Linked DNA regions of Homo sapiens: regions 1 and 2 are each linked to region 3. The links are contacts of gene promoters, found by promoter capture Hi-C in blood cells and fetal thymus (Javierre and others, 2016). All regions are on one chromosome and are shown on one strand. The core of a region is centred on a gene start or on the middle of the fragment in contact, and the rest is flanking DNA. Distances in the headings are between cores, read along the strand shown. Region 1 overlaps TSC22D2 (TSC22 domain family member 2). Region 2 overlaps MED12L (mediator complex subunit 12L). Region 3 holds the start of ERICH6-AS1 (ERICH6 antisense RNA 1).

Evidence for each region. Contacts are between HindIII fragments. The CHiCAGO score rates a contact against its expected background, and 5 or more counts as called.
Region 1: a fragment that was not itself captured here is called in contact with the fragment with the promoter of ERICH6-AS1 in region 3 in 1 of 17 cell types (fetal thymus); the score reaches 5.2 in fetal thymus.
Region 2: a fragment that was not itself captured here is called in contact with the fragment with the promoter of ERICH6-AS1 in region 3 in 5 of 17 cell types (erythroblasts, M0 macrophages, total CD8 T cells and 2 more); the score reaches 7.0 in erythroblasts.

The regions. Positions count from the first base shown.
Region 1 is chr3:150,411,608-150,414,316 of GRCh38, forward strand. The region is part of intron 1 of TSC22D2 (TSC22 domain family member 2); the gene reads left to right. Among named protein-coding and RNA genes, the nearest start is that of TSC22D2, 4.7 kb to the left of the region's middle. The HindIII fragment of the contact is 1,139 bases long and covers 835-1,973 here.
Region 2 is chr3:151,138,562-151,141,261 of GRCh38, forward strand. All of the region lies in intron 5 of MED12L (mediator complex subunit 12L), which reads left to right. Among named protein-coding and RNA genes, the nearest start is that of MED12L, 54 kb to the left of the region's middle. The HindIII fragment of the contact is 4,237 bases long and covers 1-2,700 here.
Region 3 is chr3:150,702,119-150,704,818 of GRCh38, forward strand. It overlaps ERICH6-AS1 (ERICH6 antisense RNA 1), which reads left to right and starts at 1,446. Exons shown (of 3, transcript NR_121675.1): 1 at 1,446-1,549. ERICH6 (glutamate rich 6) reads right to left here and starts at 1,802. Exons shown (of 14, transcript NM_152394.5): 1 at 1,378-1,802; 2 at 3-60. The coding sequence starts at 1,780. RefSeq lists enhancers at 1,678-1,757, 1,908-1,997. The HindIII fragment of the contact is 4,487 bases long and covers 1-2,700 here.

The DNA.
Region 1 (2,709 bases), core at 154-2,653, 290 kb before region 3:
GCTCCCATAGAATTGTCCTTTTCTTACATATCAATCACACTTGAACACGTAAGGCAGAGAGATTTGTCAGTGTGAGTTTTGAGGCTGAGACATAATAATACTACAAGTTTTCCTTTCTGGAAAACCAGAAGGTCCTCTAGTGAAAAAAAAAATCTATGTAAGGAATCTTCTCCAGTGTATCTGGAAAGGCTGGAGACATAATGGTGAAATGTCAAATCCGGCTTTGAAGATCATACTTAGTTCAGCCTTTTGATTAAAGGAGGTACAAGGTCACGAGTCTTCCCAGGGACTTCTCTAAGATACTATTTTTTTGTTGTTAAGCAAAAAATGTACTGGAAAGATATTCTTACTTTCCATCAGTCTATTTATTATAGGAAAGGGAGGTTGAGATCGATCCTTTAACTGTAGTGAAAGCTATAGTTCTTGAAATTAAGAGTAATTTTATAATAAAAGTGTAAATGTTAATAATTGGCTCCCTGTATTTAGGGATGCTTTTTTTAATGGCCTAAATAAGAATTAGTGTATTGCTACACCAGTGCCACAACAGCTGATGTTTGGTTATGGTTTAGTGAGGATTTTTGTGGTTTTGAGGAGATGTCACATGTAAATTTGACATACATATTGCAAAATTTTAAAAGCTGACTTGTTGCAATGTTTTAAAATTATATTTAAAAATTATAGAAAAAGTTTCAGGAATTTCACAGTTAGACATTTCTTTGCTGGGGTTTTTGTTTAGCGAGAGGCTAATTTTAGGTGTTTTTAAAAGATACAAACTAATATTATGGATTTCCAGAATAATTAGTATGTGGAAGAATACAATGACATGTATGTTAAAGCTTTCTCTTCCTATGGTTTCTTCTGAGTTCCTTCACATTTCTTAACCTCCCATTTCTAATTAGCCTTGTATTTTTGTTATATACTTCTGTTGGTTTGAAAAATACTCACTGACTGAAATTCATTCATCTTCTCTGCTTTTTGTAATTTAAAGTTCATCTTTTTTTGTAGGTGACTTGCTTATGGGGAGTCTTTCTTCACTTGAGAACGCTTAGAGAATACCACGTGTCCATAAGTGAGCTCAGCTAGCTAGTCATTGAGAAATTTTGTGTGTGTGGGACTACTAAGTAAACTGACTCCACAAGCCACTCAGAAAAATCCCTCTACTTTTATAGTTGCTCCCATTGTCACACACAGGGACACACCTGTAACACAGATTGAGTTTATTTTTTCACCTTTGGTAATAATCAACAGGCATCTTCACTTTTCTAGCTGCCACAAGCCAATTTTTTCCTGATAAGTTGGCAAATAACCTTTTGCTTTCCTCTGTTCCTGTATACTGCCCATATCTCTTCAAGAAATGATGACTGGTTTCCTGAGCTACCCCGCTTTCTATACACACACACACCCCTCCACCCGAGAATGCAGATTACATTTTCCCTTCTGTGCACACCTCTCTCAGTTTACAGCATCCATACTTAGATTCCTCAGAACTTTAGTACGATGATAAGGCATGAAGCAGAGACTTCTGTTGATAGATGGAAACTGAAATGTATTCTTTAGGGTATGACATCAAAAATGCATTTATTTTTTCCTCTTACTGTATTAAGAGTTGGTAATCTGAAAACTCTGATTTCCAAATTTGTGAATGGTTGAACTACAGATACTACTGTATCAGTGTTCTTACCAATTGCAACAGTTAATTCAGTGCAGGGGTTTTGATGTATGTACAGTCCTATTTTAAACATGACACTTCCCTCCCTTGCCCCAATCATTTAAAATCTACATTGCTTACCAATGTTCATTTCTGATTTTTGTTACAGTCTTTCATTGGTTTTTAACTTGACATGCTAGTTTCCAAGATGTAATCTTACACATTTGACTGTTTTGTCACTGGTCCAACATACCTGGTGAAGGAATAAATCCATTAGGTAGAAATAGTTGGGTTTTTTGTTTTGTGTTTTTTTTTTTTAATAGAAAGCTTTGGTTAAAAAAAAAAAAAAGAACAGGGTATTTTAAAATTTTGTGTTTGAAATTAAATAACAGTTTTCCAGGCATATGTTTAAATTACTGAGATGAGTACTTTTGAGGAGACTACTATCTTAACTGAAAATTTTAATTTTAATGTGATTTTGGGTTGCCGCCTTAAAATCTGCATGTTTTCAAATTTGAAATAAAACCAACTGGAGTGAGAGGTCTTGACTAATTGTGATTTAAACTTTGCAAGTAGTTTGACAAATTTCAGATCCTAAGGAAATATTTGTAAATAAGATATATGCTTTTTTTAAAAAAAAATTAGGACTTTAGTAAACAGTCTATTTCTTTGAGAAAAGAAAGGAAAATGGGAAATTAACAAAAAGATTGAGGTGGTTTAGGTTGATACATTGAAAACTCTTATCTTGAGATTTTGGTTCCATTACCTAATGCAAAGTTCTATATTGGCTTAATTTTGAGATCATTTATAATTAAAGAACCGGGCCTTATAGTAATACATCTTAATATTATCACACCTTTAAAAGGCTGATGGTTGTATATGCAAAAAGTTCTCAATTAGCATTGCCTATTGACTCTACATTATTAATTACCATAAAGTTTATCTTTCTGGCCATTTTCATTAGAAAGGTTTATGGTCAGTTGTTGAGACTCTTCAGATTGATTTTGTGTAAACTCGTGGATGTGATGGTTGAAAATACAGTCCTTAAATATGTAGCTACT
Region 2 (2,700 bases), core at 126-2,625, 440 kb after region 3:
CCCTAGGCTTCTCTTGGCTGTGACATTTTCTCAGTTTCAGTGATGTTTGACAGTTTTGAGGAGTACTAGTCAGGTATATTGTAGGGTTATCTTCTGTTGGAATTTGTCTGATATTTTTCTTATGGTTAGACCAGGGTTACAGAAGTCAAATGTCATTCTCATCATGTTACATCAAGGGTACATGCTATCACCATGACTTATGACTATTGATGTTAACCTTGATCACCTGGCTGAGGTAGCACTTACCAGGTTTTACAGTGTAAAGTTATTTCCCTCCCATCCCTTTCCACACTTTACTCTTTGGAAGGAAGTAATATGGACAGTCCACACTTAAGAAGTGGGGAGTTAACCATCCCCCTCCTTGAGGGCAGAGTATCTACTTATTTAAAATTCTTCTGCATGGGTGATTTGTCTCTTATCTACCTACCTACCTACCTACCTGCCTACCTACCTACTATTCTTTCATTCATTAATGTATGTATGTATTCAAGCATTTCTATCAGTATTGATTCATAGATGTTTACTTCATCTTTTGGTTTATAATACTCTATTTTGTTCCACCTTTGTCCATTGAGAGCTCTTTCAGCTGTGTCCTGTGTCCATTTGACATACCCATCTTAGTTTGCTTTTGTTTTTGTCTTTCTAAGTACTTTCTTCTTTTCTGGCACTAGAAGGTGCATTCCATGTTCATTGTGTATATTTTCTGTTCCAATCCTATAATGAGCCATTTCTCCAAGGAGCCCTGGTTGTCTTTAAAGGAGAGTGGTATTAGAAACCAAGAGTTGAGCACAAAGAGTGCTTATTGCTACTTGGGGTGTCACTGCTTCTAGGCCCTCTCAGTTGACAGATTAAGGAGATGCATGTGTGTGGACTAACTCATGTATGTACATATATTTATAAATATTTTTATATGTGATTGTGTTATCTCTTGAGCTAAACATGAATTCTTATTGATGCCTGGTAAGTGCATTTTTCCATTTTGTTAGATTCTGCCAAGTTTTCCTTCATAGTATTAACATGGACTAGACCTACTCAAGTTGTGAGAGGAGAATATTGGCGGGACAGGCATAGGAGAAATATGTAAGCAAGGTCTTGATGGGAGGTGAAAGAGAGCTGAATGTTCATCATCTTCCATGTAGGAAGCCAGTGGGTAATGCTTACAATCAGGAAGTAGGACTGTAAGCATGTTATTTAGAGGTAGAGGTAAATACAACAGATGAAAGAGTTGAAAATAATTTGCTTTTGGAGAATAATTGAGGAGTTTATGGACAATAGGCTGTTGTGTTCACAATAAATCATATAGAACTATTGGACTCTTTAAGACATGCACAAGAGGAGCTTTCATATAAACAAAAGTTAGCTAAGCCTAATCGCAGTCCCAAATTATTACTGCCTATTTTTTGTTGTCATTGGTACTTTTCCTGGAAGATATCTTGCTGTAAGAATGTTTTATGAAAAAGATTTGGAGGAAGTTTAAGGAATGCCATCTTACCCAGTAGCATTACAATTTAGTTATTCTTAGATAAATTGCAAGAGCTTACTTTTCTCTAAGCTAACTACTTGCTTTTTGGGACCTTAACTTAAATGAAGTAGATGTTCTTTGTAAAAATTGGAAGACCTCTAATATTTTTCCAGGTATGTAGCTTTTTAGTTAATTGAATATGCAAATTTTCCCTATTTACAGACCCTTTATTAACGTAAAATAACATAAAATTTACCATTGTAACCAACAATAAGTGTATGGTACAGCAGTATTAACTCAATGCACATTGTTGTACAACTGATTTGTAGAACTTTTTTCTCTTGCAAAACTGAAACTGCCCATTGAACAACTCCCCTTTCTCCCCCTCCACCAGCCTCTGGCTACTGCCATCATACTTTGCTGATTTACAGAAACTTTAAAAAGTTCTAATCAAGTTTAATATGCTGCACTGTAACTCTATGTGCCCGATTGTTGCCCTGTGGAAACATATTTCAGCTTTTCCAAAGTAAAAATATTATACCCTCTTCCAAGTTAGAATGCTGGTGTGTGGTTGTGGTGGTTGTATATTTATGTTTAATTAATTTTTTGGTGAAATCAAAGAAAATGTATGCCCATGATAGTTTTTGAATTTATTTATTTATTATTTATTTTTTGAGACAGAGTCTTGTTCTGTCGCCCAGGCTGGAGTGCAATGGCCTGGTCTTGGCTCATTGCAACCTCTGCCTCCCGGGTTCAAGTCATTCTCCTGCCTCAGCCTCCCGAGTAGCTGCGATTACAGGCACGTGCCTCCACACGCAGATAATTTTGTTTGTTTGTTTGTTTGTTTGTTTGTTTGTTTTTTGAGAGGGAGTCTCGCTCTGTTGCCCAGGCTGGAGTGCAGTGGCACGATCTCGGCTCACTGCAAACTCCGCATCCCAGGTTCACGCCATTCTCCTGCCTCAGCCTCCCGAGTAGCTGGGACTACAGGCACCCGCCACGACGCCCAGCTAAGTTTTTGTATTTTTAGTAGAGATGGGGTTTCACCATGTTAGCCATGATGGTCTCGATCTCCTGACCTTGTGATCCACCTGCCTTGGCCTCCCACAGTGCTGGGATTACAGGCGTGAGCCACCGTGCCTGGCGTTTTTTTTTTTGTTTTTTTTGTTTTTTTTTTTTTGTTAGTAGAGACGGGGTTTCACTGTGTTGGCCAGGCTGGTCTCGAAATCCTGACCTCGTGA
Region 3 (2,700 bases), core at 196-2,695:
ACCTATCTATACTCATTTCAGACATGTCTTTCCTAAATGTCTGAAATATTTTAGGGAAACCTGTTGAATGAAACATTTAAAAATCAGCTATTCCCTCTAAATCAAAAGGTCAATTCTACCCCCCCCAGGAACACATGGCAATGTCTGGAGACTTTTTTTTTTTTTTTTTTTTTTTTGAGACGGAGTCTCGCTCTGTCGCCTAGGCTGGAGTGCAATGGCGCGATCTTGGCTCACTGCAAGCTCCACCTCCCGGGTTCACGCTATTCTCCTGCCTCAGCCTCCCAAGTAGCTGGGACTACAGGCGCACGCCGCCACGCCCGGCTAATTTTTTGTATTTTTAGTAGAGACGGGGTTTCACCATGTTAGCCAGAATGGTCTCGATCTCCCGACCTCGTGATCTGCCCGCCTAGGCCTCCCAAAGTGCTGGGATCACAGGCGTGAGCCACCGCGCCCGGCCTGGAGACATTTTTGATCATCGCAAGGATGTGTGCTTCTAGCACAGCCACGGGTAGAGGACAGGGATGCTGCCAAATATCCTGTAATTCACAGGACAGTCCCCAATCCTCCCCAACAAAGAATTATCCAGACCAAAATGTCAACACTAGAGCTTGAGAAGCCTACTCTAGAAGACTTCTCTGCTTCTTTTTTCAAGGAAGTGACTGGAGTGGCTTCAGCACAGGATGTTAAACACAAAAGAGAGTTGTTTTTTTTTTTTGCAGGACTGTTTCAGTAGTACAGCACCCTTAAGGCACTTCTCTGGAAATAATATGAGTGTGTGTGTGTGTGTGTGTGTGTGTCTGTGAGAGAGAGAGAGAGGGAGAGAGAAAGAGAGGGGGAGGGGAGAGGGAGGGGAGGAAGAGGGAGGGGAGGGGGAACAGAGAGAGAGAGAGAGAGAGATGTCACGGTGTGAATGCACGCAAAAATGTTATAAAAATGAGCACTCCCAGCAGCCTGGGCAACATAGTGAGACGCCAGATTAGCTGGGTGTGGTGGCGTGTGCCTGTAGTTCCAGTTACTCGAGAGGCTGCGGTGGGAGGCTTGAGCCCAGGAGGTCGAGGCTGCAGCCACTGCACTCCAGCCTGGGCGACAGAGCGAGACTCTTGTCTAAAAAAAAAAAAGCACTTCATACAGCCATGCCCAAGTTCAACTTTTATGGTGTTTCGCCTATATCCTAAATCGTGCCTCATCACAACAGCTCAGCCAAGGGTTCAGTGTCTCTGACAAGGGCGTGAGAGAGATTAGGTGTGTGGAATGGTGCATGCATTTAGAAATCAGGCACGACGCGCAGGTCGACGAAGGCACCACCCAGGAGTGGGTGGACCAGGTGCCCCCTGGAGACGAGAAACCCTCGAGGAAGGGGTGGGTCGGGGGCGGTACTTTTATGCGAGGAGGTGCTGGAGGGTGGGCTTGCGCTCGGCGTTTCAGTGCTGGTCGCGCTCTGGCTGGGCACGAACGTAGAGGTCAGGCTAGGGCTGACGATGCTGGCTAAGCGGGGGCGCACGTCTGGGAAGTCGTCGTCGTAGTCACCGATGTCCGTGACCTTCCAGAGGTACTCTTCGCTGAACGTCTCAGGGGCCTCCAACTCCTGCTCTTCCCCCACCAACTCCTCCTCCACCACCTCCTCCTCCTCCTCCTCCACCTCTTCCTCCTCCTCCTCCACCTCTTCCTCCTCCTCCTCCACCTCTTCCTCCTCCTCCTCCTCCTCTAACTCCTCCTCTGACTCCTTCTGGTCCTTCTTCCCCGGGTCTCCGAAGCCGCTAGGCGAGCGCAAGTGGGCCATGGCTGGCGGGAGGCGGGATTACAGCCAGCTCTTTGGCCGCGGCCCCGGTCGGCTCTCGCGAGCGCGAGCCTCTGTTGTGCGTTGGTCTCCCCGGGCAACTGCTTGCCCTGCGCCACCGAGCCTCCCGGATTTAAAGCGGCAGGAGCTGGTTAGCCGGATAGAATGTGGGTGCCGAGGGCCGGTGGGGGCCACCGCAGACTTCTTTCTGTCCCTGCTCTTCAGCGTCTCTGAAACCCCTGGCAGCCTGCGGAGAAACGATCTTTTCTTCGTCTCTCAGCTTATTTGGGGCCTTTTTTTTTTTTTTTAACTTGGGTGGAGGAAGTGGCTTCTAGCGACGGACACACACGGTGCCATTTGGTATTGCGGATGCTGGAGTCTGGTTATTGAGTAGACAGATGCTTGCTGGAACGTCCAGTGAAACTTTATTTACAAAATCAGGCGCCAGCCCTTGGGCCCTCGTTTGCGGATATTTTTAAAATAGCTTTAAATATTAATAAGCGTATTAAAATTGCCTTAAATGTTAGTTATCTTAAATATTGTTAGATTAATATTAATTAATCTTGATTGGCGACATTTTTAGCGTCCCATAAATTTTGCTCCTTGCTGTGATCTGGGTCCTGCTTCTTACTTGGCCCATCTATCCATCCTGGAGTAGAAAAGTCCTGAAGCATCTGGCCACCTAGGTACCACCTGCGTCCTTCTGGGACTTTGTATTTACTTACATTTTTGTAAAATATATACATTTTTTATTTTTGAGAGACAGGATGTCACTCTGTCACCCAGGCTGGAGTGCAGTGGCGGCATCATGGTTCACTTCAGCCCTGAACTCTTGGGCTCCAGTGATCCTCCCACCTCGGTCTCCCAAGTGGCAAGGACAACAAATGTGTGTCACCACGCCTGGCCAATTTTATATATTATAT